4 separate regions of the Homo sapiens genome follow, and all the other regions are linked to region 3. The links are contacts of gene promoters, found by promoter capture Hi-C in blood cells and fetal thymus (Javierre and others, 2016). All regions are on one chromosome and are shown on one strand. The core of a region is centred on a gene start or on the middle of the fragment in contact, and the rest is flanking DNA. Distances in the headings are between cores, read along the strand shown.

Evidence for each region. Contacts are between HindIII fragments. The CHiCAGO score rates a contact against its expected background, and 5 or more counts as called.
Region 1: a contact is called between the fragment with the promoter of TMEM38B here and the fragment with the promoter of RAD23B in region 3, in 1 of 17 cell types (naive CD8 T cells). The highest score is 5.7, in naive CD8 T cells.
Region 2: a fragment that was not itself captured here is called in contact with the fragment with the promoter of RAD23B in region 3 in 1 of 17 cell types (naive CD8 T cells); the score reaches 6.0 in naive CD8 T cells.
Region 4: a contact is called between the fragment with the promoter of CTNNAL1 here and the fragment with the promoter of RAD23B in region 3, in 6 of 17 cell types (activated CD4 T cells, total CD8 T cells, total CD4 T cells and 3 more). The highest score is 16.1, in activated CD4 T cells.

What each region holds. Positions count from the first base shown.
Region 1 is chr9:105,692,936-105,696,097 of GRCh38, reverse strand. TMEM38B (transmembrane protein 38B) reads right to left here and starts at 1,557. Exons shown (of 6, transcript NM_018112.3): 1 at 1,326-1,557. The coding sequence starts at 1,437. RefSeq lists a silencer at 1,454-1,723. The HindIII fragment of the contact is 6,405 bases long and covers 1-3,162 here.
Region 2 is chr9:109,104,659-109,107,626 of GRCh38, reverse strand. It overlaps TMEM245 (transmembrane protein 245), which reads left to right. Exons shown (of 18, transcript NM_032012.4): 3 at 1,018-1,119. Among named protein-coding and RNA genes, the nearest start is that of TMEM245, 14 kb to the left of the region's middle. The HindIII fragment of the contact is 6,110 bases long and covers 1-2,968 here.
Region 3 is chr9:107,281,544-107,284,599 of GRCh38, reverse strand. RAD23B (RAD23 nucleotide excision repair protein B) reads right to left here and starts at 1,321. Exons shown (of 10, transcript NM_002874.5): 1 at 905-1,321. The coding sequence starts at 970. RefSeq lists a silencer at 783-1,342 and an enhancer at 1,833-1,992. The HindIII fragment of the contact is 9,258 bases long and covers 1-3,056 here.
Region 4 is chr9:109,011,919-109,014,797 of GRCh38, reverse strand. It overlaps CTNNAL1 (catenin alpha like 1), which reads left to right and starts at 1,299. Exons shown (of 19, transcript NM_003798.4): 1 at 1,299-1,496. The coding sequence starts at 1,356. RefSeq lists a silencer at 1,057-1,946 and an enhancer at 1,608-2,111. The HindIII fragment of the contact is 6,099 bases long and covers 943-2,879 here.

The sequences.
Region 1 (3,162 bases), core at 308-2,807, 1.6 Mb after region 3:
AAAAAATGAGAGTGAAAAAGATAACATCTGCATATTATTACGAAAGTAATTTTAAACTGGCAGTGTCAGAGAATCCCATGGGTCCCTGGACCACAATGTGAACATCTGATTCAGCCTATACAAAAAAAAATTTTTTTAATCAAATTCTGAACATGTAGTAGCAACAAAACTTACTTTTTTCAAATCAAAGAAATAATATCTTATGCAGATAATGTGTTCTACTTTAATGCAGTAATACCATCCTCATCCAGGTCAAAATTTGTACCAACGATTTAAACTGAGCTACAAACTTCAACATAAATGAAAAATATTTCTGAGGTCTAAGGATTTTTTAAAACCAGTAAGTAGTCCATAAGAAAGATACAGCATCATCCTCCAGACCTCACTCATCAACTATCCGTAGGGCAAGGCAGATGAAAGACAGCAAGAACACAAAGAAAGTAGGCAAAGAAATGTCTGACCTCAAAGAAAGAAGAGGTCCATACAACTAAAAGCACAGTAGAATAACTACAAAAGTAAAGCAGTATTAGAGCAAACGCACCCTGGTGTAAAATCCAATAAAATACAACTACTGTCCCTTGATCGCATTGCTAAAAGAACTCAAAATGCTGTTTCAAGACTATATCCCCATTCTGCAGATAGTGAAACTACGCCAGGTAACTCTTGCTTGTACAGTGTCCGTCGTGACTGTGAAAAGGGGAACGCACTCGCTTCTCACATGCTAGGCAGGGTGTTAGGACACTGCGTGAAGGGGAATCCTGGTCTGGCTACAGGAGGCTTTTTGTTTCAGTGCTTGTACAACTTTCATAACTGGAGAGTAGTCCGCAACCATCTATTACTCCAAGAGACTGAGTCAGAAACCTGCTGTCTCCTCACATGACTTTCAAACACTGCGAGCGAGTGGCGACACTGCGAGCGAGTGGCGACACTGCGAGCGAGTGGCGGTACCGCGAGGAGGCCGCCCAAGCCCTGGGCTGGCGCGGATATCTGTGGTTCCGAAACGCTGCGGCAGCTTCTGTCAGTCCTGGGACTTCTGCGGGCGGTTGGCAAGGTCGGCCCTGCTCGCCCAGGCTACGGCCTCGCGGACCCCAGGTCACGCCTCCTTTGAGGAGTACTAGAGCCTCCGTCCTCCCCCACGCTGTTTCCCCATCTGCACTCAGTAAGTCAGACCAACCGGCCCTTGGCGCCCCTCCAACTCTACCATCGAACTGTCTGGGCTAGCGGCCACTCAGCCGCCCACCCGACCCACCCGACCCACCCGACTTAGACGGTCCTCGCCGTCAGGAGCACTCTGAGGGGTCCGGCCCGCGGCGCCCCGCACTCACCCGGCTGACGTTTCACCGCCATCACTGACACTAGATAGTGCGCGATGTCAAAAAAGGGAAACATGGACGTGCGGGAGAAGGCCAGAGCCAACTCGTCCCATGGAGAATCCATAACGACCACCGACCGCGGCAACCGAAGCAGCCGCGGCTACTGGTTCCCCGCGCTCGCGCGGTGAGGAGTAGGAGAGGGCACAGCCGCGGCCGCCCGCTCCTCCGCGCCGGCTCCAGCTCCGCGCGTGCGCCCTGGCGCCGAGGGGGCGGGGCCGCGCTTCGCGGGAGCCGCAGGCTCACCGGCGCTAGGCGGGTGGGCGGGGCGAGCGGGTTCCCCGCGGCTCCAGCCGGCTCTTGCCTCGGTTCTCCTAGTAAGGGTCCAGCGTCTTCTTGGTCCTGGGCGCAGTGCAGGACCTGGAGAGCGTGCAGATGAACAAAACACGGTCCTCAAGGGGAGACGCTCAGAGTTGGATTTATTTCTGTAAATTGATGTCATTCACCTAACATTTATCGAGCAACCACAGTGCAAGTCACACTGTGACTTACTGGAGATATAAAAATAAAACAATAATATCCTGACCTCAAGAACTATGCGTTCCCTGAAAGAGATTTTTTATAAAAAGAGAAAAAACGCACATAATGGTACAAAAGCAGGTACTGAGAAGTATAGCTGCCGTGCGAGAGCAGTTCGAAACGAAGATTACAATTCTGGGAAGTGAGTAAAGTGACATGTGAGCTGGACTTTAAAAGTTAAGTGAGAAACACAAGCTAGGTGGGAGATGGAGGGAGGTGTTTTGGGTTGACTACAAAGTGAGAAATGAGGTTGGGAAAAGTCCTCGAATGGCAGACAAAGCCAGGCAGTTTGGCTCCAGAGGTTAAATTCTTGATCAATCACTATGTTAAGCTCAGAGCCAGAATCTCTTCTCCTAATCTCTACGCTAACTGGGTTGTTTGGTGGAAGGTGAGGGAGTAGAGGTGCAACGAAGCAACAAGATTAAGAATAGATTGATGAGAAGCGACTGACAACGGAAAATCAGAGGGTATTCACTGGTCCAAGCAAAAGGTAGTGGAGGCTGTGGCAGCAGAAATTGAGACCAATTGTGGGAAACATGGGTAGAAGCAGAATATCGTCAGTGAGTGTCAGTCTGTACAGGCGGGAAAGGAAGCATTTGTCAAATAAAATGAGGAACGGGTGAGTAGGAGGATTGTGGTTGCATTCTGATAAATAGGAAACAAGAAGGAATAGGTTTGGGTAAGAAAAAAAACTAGCTTGGCACACTTATTTGATGTGTGAACAGATTATGCTGGCACCAGGAAATTGGAGAAACGTGATTAGCTGCTAGGTAGGTGACAGCTTCACGGGTGTATGCACTGCAAAAGGAGAATTTTTTTTATCTGAATATGTATTCATTAATTTTAATTCATTTAACAAAATGTTTTTTGCGTGCCTACTATGTAACCAGCATTTTGCTGGATGTCAGAAATACTGCCCTAAACACTAAGTGTTTAAAACGTAGGAAAATTGTAGTAAATCTCTACACTTCATTACTTATCAAGAAAGAATAGACTTGTTCAAATACTTTTCACGTGTGGTTTTCTAAGCAAGCACTTCCCGTAGAGAAAAGTCTTTAGACCTGTAGCACACTTTCTAGCAAAACTAAGGGGAAAAAAACCACCTGTGAATATTTATACTTTCCTGTTTAAGTCTGTTCTTTCCATACTTTTTACACATTCGCTTATTTTTGGAATTTTAGTTTTGCGAATTTAGGCTCAGAGTTTGGATATTACTTCTTTTTTTTCTTTTCTTGTTTTTTTTTTTTTTTTTTTTTTTTTTTTTTGATATGTA
Region 2 (2,968 bases), core at 456-2,955, 1.8 Mb before region 3:
TGATGTCAAACAAAGCATTATTCTCTAGCTTTGTTGAGTTGGAATGATAGAGGAATTTATCTGCAAGAACCCGTATGTCAGATATGACTCATTTTGAACTCAGGGAAGGCAGAGGAGGGAGGCAGGCAGGCAGGGATGTTTTATGAGGTTCTAGGTGGACTCAGGGAAATGGTTATGGGTAGGGACCTGTTTCTTGGTGACTTGTGAACTTTTTTTTTTTTTTTTTTTGAGACAGAGTCTCACTCCATCGCCCAGGCTGGAGTGCAGTGGTGTGATCTTGGCTCACTGCAGCCTCCACCTCCTGGGTTCAAGCAATTCTCCTGTCTCAGCCCCCCAAGTAGCTGGGATTACAGGCATGTACCACCACGCCTGGCTAATTTTTTTTTTTTATTTTTATTTTTAGTGGAGATGGGATTTCACCATGCTGGCCAGGCTGGTCTCGAACTCCTGACCTCAAATTAGCCACCTGCCTCAGCCCCCCAAAGTGCTGGGATTACAGGTGTGAGCCACTGCGCCCAGCCAACTTGTAAACATTTTTGCATTATACACTGAGGAGGAGACATTGATGGTTTTGCTGTGCTCTTTTGGGCCATTCTCTTTCTTGGGAGAGAAAGTTCACGCCCGGTGGTATTTTCAAGAAACCAAGGCAGACTTTATGGCTTTGAGATCTATGCCTAATTCTGGTCATTCTGGGGTGAAGTAGATGGTTTGAGTTCGGGATGGTTTTAGACCTTTGGTATACGTTACAATAGACTCTCTTTAATAGAACCCCATTAAAGGTAGGCAGGCATGTACCCTATCCATTTGACCAGGGGCCTCTGAGAGCAGGGATGAACTTAATTTTGAGAAATCTTGAAGTTTATCTAATGGACTTAAATTTTTTTTTTTTTGCCTGATAAGTAATTCTGTAACTAATATATATACCAGATTGTTCTGTCAAACTACAAAACTGAGTTTTGTAAAAACAAGTACTAGGTTTTTATTTCACTAAAAATGTTAATTCTTAATAATTTGCAGCATCCCTGGCTGGCTCATGGAGAATTCCAGTATTCCTGGTTATTGTTTTCCTGATGTCTGTGGGTACCCTCTATGAAAAACAGAATGGAAAAGAGTCTTCTGGTAAGAAATAGGGCATTCTATTAATACTACTCTTTGAAGTATTTTGGAGAGTAGCTTTTTAAAAAATGCTATGATGAAACAGCTTTGAATCTATTTAAAAACCTATGATGGTTTCTGAGTGGAAAATAAATTGTTTAAAATATTTTAGGTTGTTAGACCATGATTTGTTTTGGTATTATTTTATTGAGGCATGTATAACTTAAAGTTAACCATAAGCCATTGTATTTTAATTTTATTAAAATATTTTATTTTTATAAAATAAAATATTTTTATTTTATTTTTTAGTGACAAGGTCTTGCTCTGTTTCCAGGCTGGAGTGCAGTGGCACAATCATAGCTCACTGTAACCTTGAACTCCTGGGCTCAGGGGTTTTCCAACCTTATCCTCCCAAGTAGCGAGGGCTACAGGTGCAGTAATCACGTAAAAATGGCCTACAGGCCGTGCGCAGTGGCTCACGTCTGTAATCCCAGCACTTTGGGAGGCTGAGGCAAGCGGATCACGAGGTCAGGAGTTCGAGACCAGCCTGGCCAATATGGTGAAACCCCGTCTCTACTAAAAATACAAAAATTAGCTGGGCATGGTTGGCATGTGCCTGTAGTCCCTGCTACTCGGGAGGCTGAGGCAGAAGAATTGCTTGAACCCAGGAGGTGGAGGTTGCAGTGAGAGCCGAGATCGCACCACTGCACTCCAGCCTGGCAACAGAGCGAGACTCCGTCTCAAAAAAAAAAACAGGCATACAATATGTCACAATGTTGTGCATCCATGACCTGTATCTAGTTCCAAGACATTTTCATTACCTCAGAAAGAAACCCTGTACATATATCAGTACTTCATTCCTTTTTATGGCTGAATAATATTCCATGGTAAGAGCACACCACATTTTGTTTATTTACTCATCAGTTGATGGATATTTGGGTTATTTCTACCATTTGTCTATTGTGAATAGTGCTGCTATGAACTTGTGTGCAAGTATTTATTTGAATACACGTTTTCAGTTCTTTGTTTACCTATGAGTAGAATTACTGGGTCGTATGGTAATTCTGTGTTTAATTTTTTAAGGAACTGCCAAACTGTTTTCCACAGCAGATGTACCATTCAGATTTCTACCAGCAGTGTATGAGGATTCTAATTTCTTTGCATCCTTGCCAACACCTATTATTTTCCACTTTTTGATAATGGCCAGTCCAGTGGGTGTGAAGTGGTATCTCATTATGGTTTTCATTTGCATTTCCGTAATGACTAATGATGTTGAGCATCTTTTCATTTGCTTTTTGGCCATTTGTTTCTCTTCTTTGGAGAAATGTCTATTCAAATTCTTTCCCCTTTAAAAAAAATTAAATTGTTTGCCTTTTTGTTGTTGCGTTTTAGGAATTCTTTACATATTCTAGATACTAGACCCTTATCAAATATATGATTTTTAAATATTCCATTGGTGGGTTGTATTTTTACTCTCTTGATAGTCTCTTTTGATGCAAAGAAATTTTTTTGATGAAGTCCAGTTTATCTACTTTTTCTTTTATTGCTTGTGTTTTTGATGTCATCTGACAAACAATTGCCAAATCCAAGGTCGTAAATACTTACCCTTAAGTTTCCTTTTAAGAATTTTATATTTTTATCTCTTATATTTAGGTCATTGATCCGTTTTGAAATAATTTTTGTAAATGATGTGAGGTAAGGATCCAACCTCATTCTTTTGCCTGTGTATATTCAGTTCTCCCAGCACTGTTGAAGATGGCCTTGGCACCCTTGTCAGAAATCAGTTGACCATATATATATGGGTTTATTTCTGCCCTTTCTGTTGTGTTTCACTGATCTATATGTCTCTCCTTAATGTCAGTTAACACATTCT
Region 3 (3,056 bases), core at 72-2,571:
GTCTCTTTATGCAGTCACAAATACAGAAAAATGTATAATGTGGACTTCTGAAATGTTTAAGGCTTTAACTGCAGAAAGGATTCAAAGTTGTTGTTTTTTGTTTTTTTTTTCTTTTTTCCCCCTTGAACTGCTACTGTTTGGGGCATCGGGGGAGGGTGGCTGCAGCGTTCCAACTCCTACAATTCCAAGATTTCTAACACAGAAAACCCGTTAAATCTGAAGTTTAGTTTGAGCCTGGATGGCTGTGAAGAGCTCTAACAGCTAAAACCATCACCAAAGAGGCCTCAAAGTGCAATCTACGCAAGGGTGTGGGTTTGGTGGCGGGAGGAAGGCAGCAGAACGATTCATTTGCAAATAAAAGGGTAAACAATTCTGAGGGGAAAGGGGCAAATTCATTTTCACCACCACTCACCTCTCGGCGGCAAACGGAACCTGATACTTTTTTTTTTCTTAAGGCTCATCTTCTCGGGTTACCAACTCTGGGAACTAAGCGGCTAACCAGGTCCACACAGGGGTAGTGGCGACGCCTACGTCTCCCTCCCCCACCTGTGCACCCATACCAGAAAGCCAGGCTCTACGGCTGAGACGGCCTGGACCTTCCCATCCCCCTCCGGCCCCGCTAGCACGAGCTCCTAGGCCCAGGCCCGCGGGCGTGCGCTCCACGCCATCTGCCACCAGGCCTTCGGCGTCCGGCCACTGCTTCCCCATTCTCCTGCCACAAAGCCCACGGCCAAGACAGGAGGATCGGCTCCGCTGTACGCCGCCAGGGCCGGCACCAGGACCCAGGGCCCTCATCGCGCCCTCCGGGGCTTCCCCCGCTGGAGCGCGCCGCCCGGCCCCACGAGCTCCTGGCGCTCCCCGCGGCCCGCACGCGGCTGCCCCTGCCCCCGGCCCGCGCGCATACCGTCTCCTCGGGGTCAATGTCTATCTTGAAGGTCTGCTGCTGGAGGGTCTTCAGGGTGACCTGCATGGTGCCGCCGCGCAGCTCGGCTGCCGGGCCTGCGCCGGGTGCTGGCCGCTGGGCGGGGTCTGTGGCCTGGCGGGGCCCCGGGGTCGCCCGCGCTCCTCGCGCTCTGGGGAGGAAGGCGGTGGGGGTGGGGGCTTGTCACATTCGCCCAGCGGAGCGGCCTCTCCCCCAGCCCGTGCCCCGGACCGCGCCGCTGCCTCCGCGACTGCGGCCTTCCCCGCGAACTCGGGCCGCCGTGCTTCCTCACGCGCCGAGCGCCAGCCACGGAGTCTGCAGAAGGCGCGAGGGGGTCGGCGAGACAAGCAGGGAATCCGCTAGCTCACCACAGGATGGTGGCCGCCATCATCGTGACTCGCCGAGACGTGCCCCCTCCCCCACGCGAAAAACCTGGGGGGATGGGGCCGGGCGGGCGAAGCGCGCAGGCGTGGGGTGCGGCGACGCTTTGCGCCGGCGCGGCCGAGGACTCCGCCCCAGAATTGGGGGCGGGGCGGAAGGCGGTCCTGGAATGTCGGCGGCCTGGACCCGGATTACGCAGGCGCGTTCCGTGGGCGGCAAGGGCTCCTGGGGCTTCCTCCTAGCGACTATTGCTGGGGCGTTCTCTCCGGCTGCCGCGGCTCCGCCTCTGTGCAGGCTCCGCCCGGCTGCCGAAGTTACGCAATGTGTAGCCCGGGAAGCGCTTCGTGGAGACCCGGCAGAGTGGATGCGGAGCCCTGGAGCGGGGGAGTAATCGGGGCGGAGTTTAAGTGAAAGGATGGCGGTAACCACAGTCTGGGGGCCAGCACCCGCGGGGCGCTTGCTGCGGGGCTCAGCCCTGGGGGTGTCGACTGATTCTTTAATCCCGACAGCACAGACTCCTGAGCTGGACTGCCCGAGTTCAAATATTGTTTTTTCTCACTAGCCTAAACAGATGGACCGATTTAAAATGAAGGTCAAGTTCTGTCACACCTCGGGGTAGAACTGTCCAGTGTTTCCCCATCTAGCCCCGAGTTAAAGTCAGAGTTATTAGAACGGATGCATTAGCCCCTCGCCTTTCTCCGAGTCGCCTTACTCTCCCCACTGGTGGATTCTAGGTTGCCCCCGGCTCCCTTAACATCCTTGCTCAGATATTGCCTTCTTGGTGAGGTCTGTTCTGGCTGCCTTACTTAAAATCCCAACTTCCTATCTCTGTTATCCTGCTCTGTTTTCTTGTATAGCGGGTATCCCTTTATAATTACCCTGTAATGTACGTATCTCTTGTTTATCATCTTTCTCCTTTTCCTGTGAACCCCAGACTGAAGCTGCACAGAGGCAAAGATTTTGCTGTGTTCACCCATGAACATGCCTGGCACATTGCAGGTGCACGGTAAATATTTGTGGAATGGGTGAATGTGCTTCTGGATCCTCAGCAGTAGAATGAGAATAATAATGTCACTCATTGATTATTGGAGGGGGAAGTTGAATATTGTATGTAAAATCATGATAAACAGTCTGTAAGCAGTTAGCTATTAGTAGAAAGTCCGTTTACAGATAGAAAACTGAAGTACAGAGATGTTGAGTAATGCACCTGGAATAACCCAGCCAGTAGTAAATGGCAAATCCACAATGTGACCTCAGACAGAATGACTCCAGAGTCTGTGTCCCAGGGTGTGCCACTATTCCCCTGTTTTTTGTTTTAAAGATTATTCTTATTTTTTTAAAGCGTCTGACTGTCATCCACGCTGGAGCGCTGTAGCACAAACACGGCTCACTGCAGCGTCAACCTCCTGAGCTCAAGAGATCCTTCCACCTCAGCCTCTTGAGTAGCTGGGACCACAGACACACACCACTGCTTCCCAGCTGATATTTTATTTTTTTGTACAGATATGTTCTCCCTATGTTGCCAGGGCTGGTCTTGAACTCCTGGGCTCAAGTAATCCTCCTGCTTCGGAGTCCCAAAGTGCTGGGATTATATGTGAGCCATCGCTCCCAGCTATTCTCCTCTGTTTTATACTGTGCCTGTGGCACATTTGATTTAGTTCAAGTATAAAACACAGTTCTAGTCAGGCCACTAGCTCTATGACCAATTACAAATTACTTCTCTGGGACAGCATCCTCACTAATACAATGTCAC
Region 4 (2,879 bases), core at 50-2,549, 1.7 Mb before region 3:
CCAAAGACAGCTGTGCAGCACTGGTAGATTGATGAAGCTGAAGCTACAGGTTGAAGCACTGTGAAGCGCCTTTCAACGGTGCTTGGGAAAGAGCTTTCTTATGCCTCAGGTTGATGTACCCAGCTCATCAATCTGGTGTTATGGAAGAAGAAATGATCCAGGCCAAGGTGTCCGGGTGGACTGGCCAGCCTCAGATTCTTTTTTACTCTGACAGGTTCTCACTGGCAGATATGGTAGTTGACAAAACATTTTTTCATGCTTCTCAGTCTGTTGCTTAAGTCTGGAATTCCTTCACGGCGTGCATACTGCTGACAACCTCCTTTTGGCCTTGCTCCTGGAGACCTTAGAATAGGAGTCTTCAGCTCCCCGCCCCCATCGTGGGGCTCTGTGCGAGCTCAGAGTTGTGCTTACAGAACTGATTCTTACCCTTCCCCTCAAGTGAGTTGTCAGAAATACACACTTGGTGTTTTCATGCAATGAACAGTTATGAAGAAACTGCTCTGTGCCTGGCACTAGGAAAAAACTTCGAAAAATAGTTTTAAGAAGTAGTGTTGAACAGTAGATGAGGCTTTTTCATGTTTCTTTTAAATTTCTTTTGAATAAGTCTAAACAGTAGTGTGAAAGATATACTGACTTCCTGCCGAATACCCAGATACTCCATTAATGATTGCATTATCAAATGTTTCCCCTTCAATCCAGCTCAAAGTGTTTGTGAGAAATACATGGTGAAAGAATGAGCAGGGTGGAGTGGAAATTGGACCTTCCGGAGAAGCCCCAGGAAGACATTACCACTGGAATTCCCGTCCCAGGGGAAAGGCCCCTCCCAACAGACTTGATTCTGGTTTTGGTCTACCAGTTTCAACCCCAGCACAGCTTCCAGAAGTCTTTGCGGGAATTCAGAGCTGATTTAGGACGAGTCACCTATCGAGAGGACGGGAAGCTTTGCTGGGGACGCTTGTCTGTCCAAGTAAGAGGAGGCCATGTGGCTGTGTGACAGATGTGTTTTGTTTCTCCTCGCCACCCTGGCGAGAAGGTGCCTGGAACCCATGGAAGGGGTCTGAGAAGAGATAAGGGCGGGGCCATGTGGGGGCGGGACCCGGCTTAGGGGGTGGGGTTGCAGGGAGCCCACACCAGGCTGGACTGCGCGGGCGGGGCAGAGGCCGGGGGTGGGCGGGGACATACGGTGACGGGCGTCGGGGACGCAGGGTTGGCGGCGGAGCCCTGGGGGGGCGGGCCCCTGGGGGCGGGGTCTCGGTTGGCGCGAGTGTCCTGTCGCCGCCGCCTCGGGCGGGTGGGCTGACTGGCGGCAGGCTCGCCGCGGCGCGGAGTCCCGGCTGCGGGATAGACCGAGGGCCATGGCCGCCTCTCCCGGACCCGCCGGCGTTGGCGGCGCCGGAGCAGTCTACGGCTCCGGCTCTTCGGGCTTCGCCCTCGACTCGGGACTGGAGATCAAAACTCGCTCGGTGGAGCAGACGCTACTCCCGCTGGTTTCTCAGGTAAAGTGGCGCCTGGCGCGGCCCCTCTTCTCCTTCCCGCCGCGGCCCGCGATGGCGGCCGCCGCTCGCACGACCGGACGGGAGGCAGCCGCTGCCCCACTTTCCGCGCCGGCACTGCGGCGTTCTTGTCGGACCGCCTGTGTGGGGCTCCGGGACGGGCCTCGGCCCGGGCGGCGAGAGACTGGATAATCCAAACTCCGGCGGCAGGGTTGAGTGGACTCGGCAGCAGGGGAGGCTGCGGGGCGGGGGTGCCGGCCTGGGCCTTTGCCCCCAGTACCTGCCTCGGGTCTGCGGCTCCCGGGTGCCCCCGGCCGGGCGATGCCCCCTCCGCGGGGCGAGTGGTTGAGCCCAGCTCCCGAGGCAGAGAGGACCCCCGCGGGGCCCCTCGCTGGTACTTAGGGCCCTCCACGATAACCGACTTTGTCACCAGTTCGCAGCCTGGTCCCGAGCCCGGCTCCTCCGCCTGGGGTATTCCTCCCGGCCTCCCCGCCCAGCGTGCGCTCCCTGATCCTTTGTCCCTCCCCGCCGTAGGTCAGTTCGCTGGCCTCCCATTCATCCCGGCCACCCTACCCCTTCCCCTGAACCTGCTGCTGCTCACTTCTGCCCGCTTCTGTCCGGCCTCGTGGAAGAGTGACGTGGAGACTGTATGACAGTTAATCCAGATGCACACCGTTTTGCCAAGTCCCGTTTGGGATGTGTGCGTTACTGTATTTGCCAATCAGCTAACCGACGCCCTGAGTTTTAGGAAAGTTTTTGTTTCTCTGAGCTGGGTTATATGCAGCTTCAGGGCTAGAATTCCTCACTTAGGTCTGTGGTAAGATGCCAAGCACTGTGGGGAGTGAATTCTGTGCCTTCGGGAGCGCGTTGGCGATGTGTGACTCACATCTAGGTTGTAACCACTTCGTGACTCATACTAGGATTACCAAGATTTTAGAGGTAGAAGAAATCTTAAAGATTATCTGACTAAAAATTCTTTCTTTAGCATCCTTGACACCTGGCCACCAGTACCCTGCTTAAACATGTTCAGTGAAGGGGAGCCTGTAGCTGTTGCATAGAATTCTAAATGCTATTATCTCTTCTCCTGCCCAGCCCTGCGCATATTTGAAAACAGCAGTTACACATGTCCCTGGATTCCTGTTATGCTGGTTAAATAAACATCCCTATTTTCTTCACCTTCGCATGGCTAACGGAGCAGTGATGAATATATCTGACACTCTCCTTCCCTTTTCCTGTGTCTCATTGAGGCTCTGACCAGTGGGAAGGGGCACTGGGATCCCTCAGTAATGTCAGACCCTCCGCTCCTCGCCTATCTCCACTAGCACAACACAACCAAAACGAGAAACACTGGAGCAGTTTTAAGAGGCAGAGAGATAAGAGAGTGAT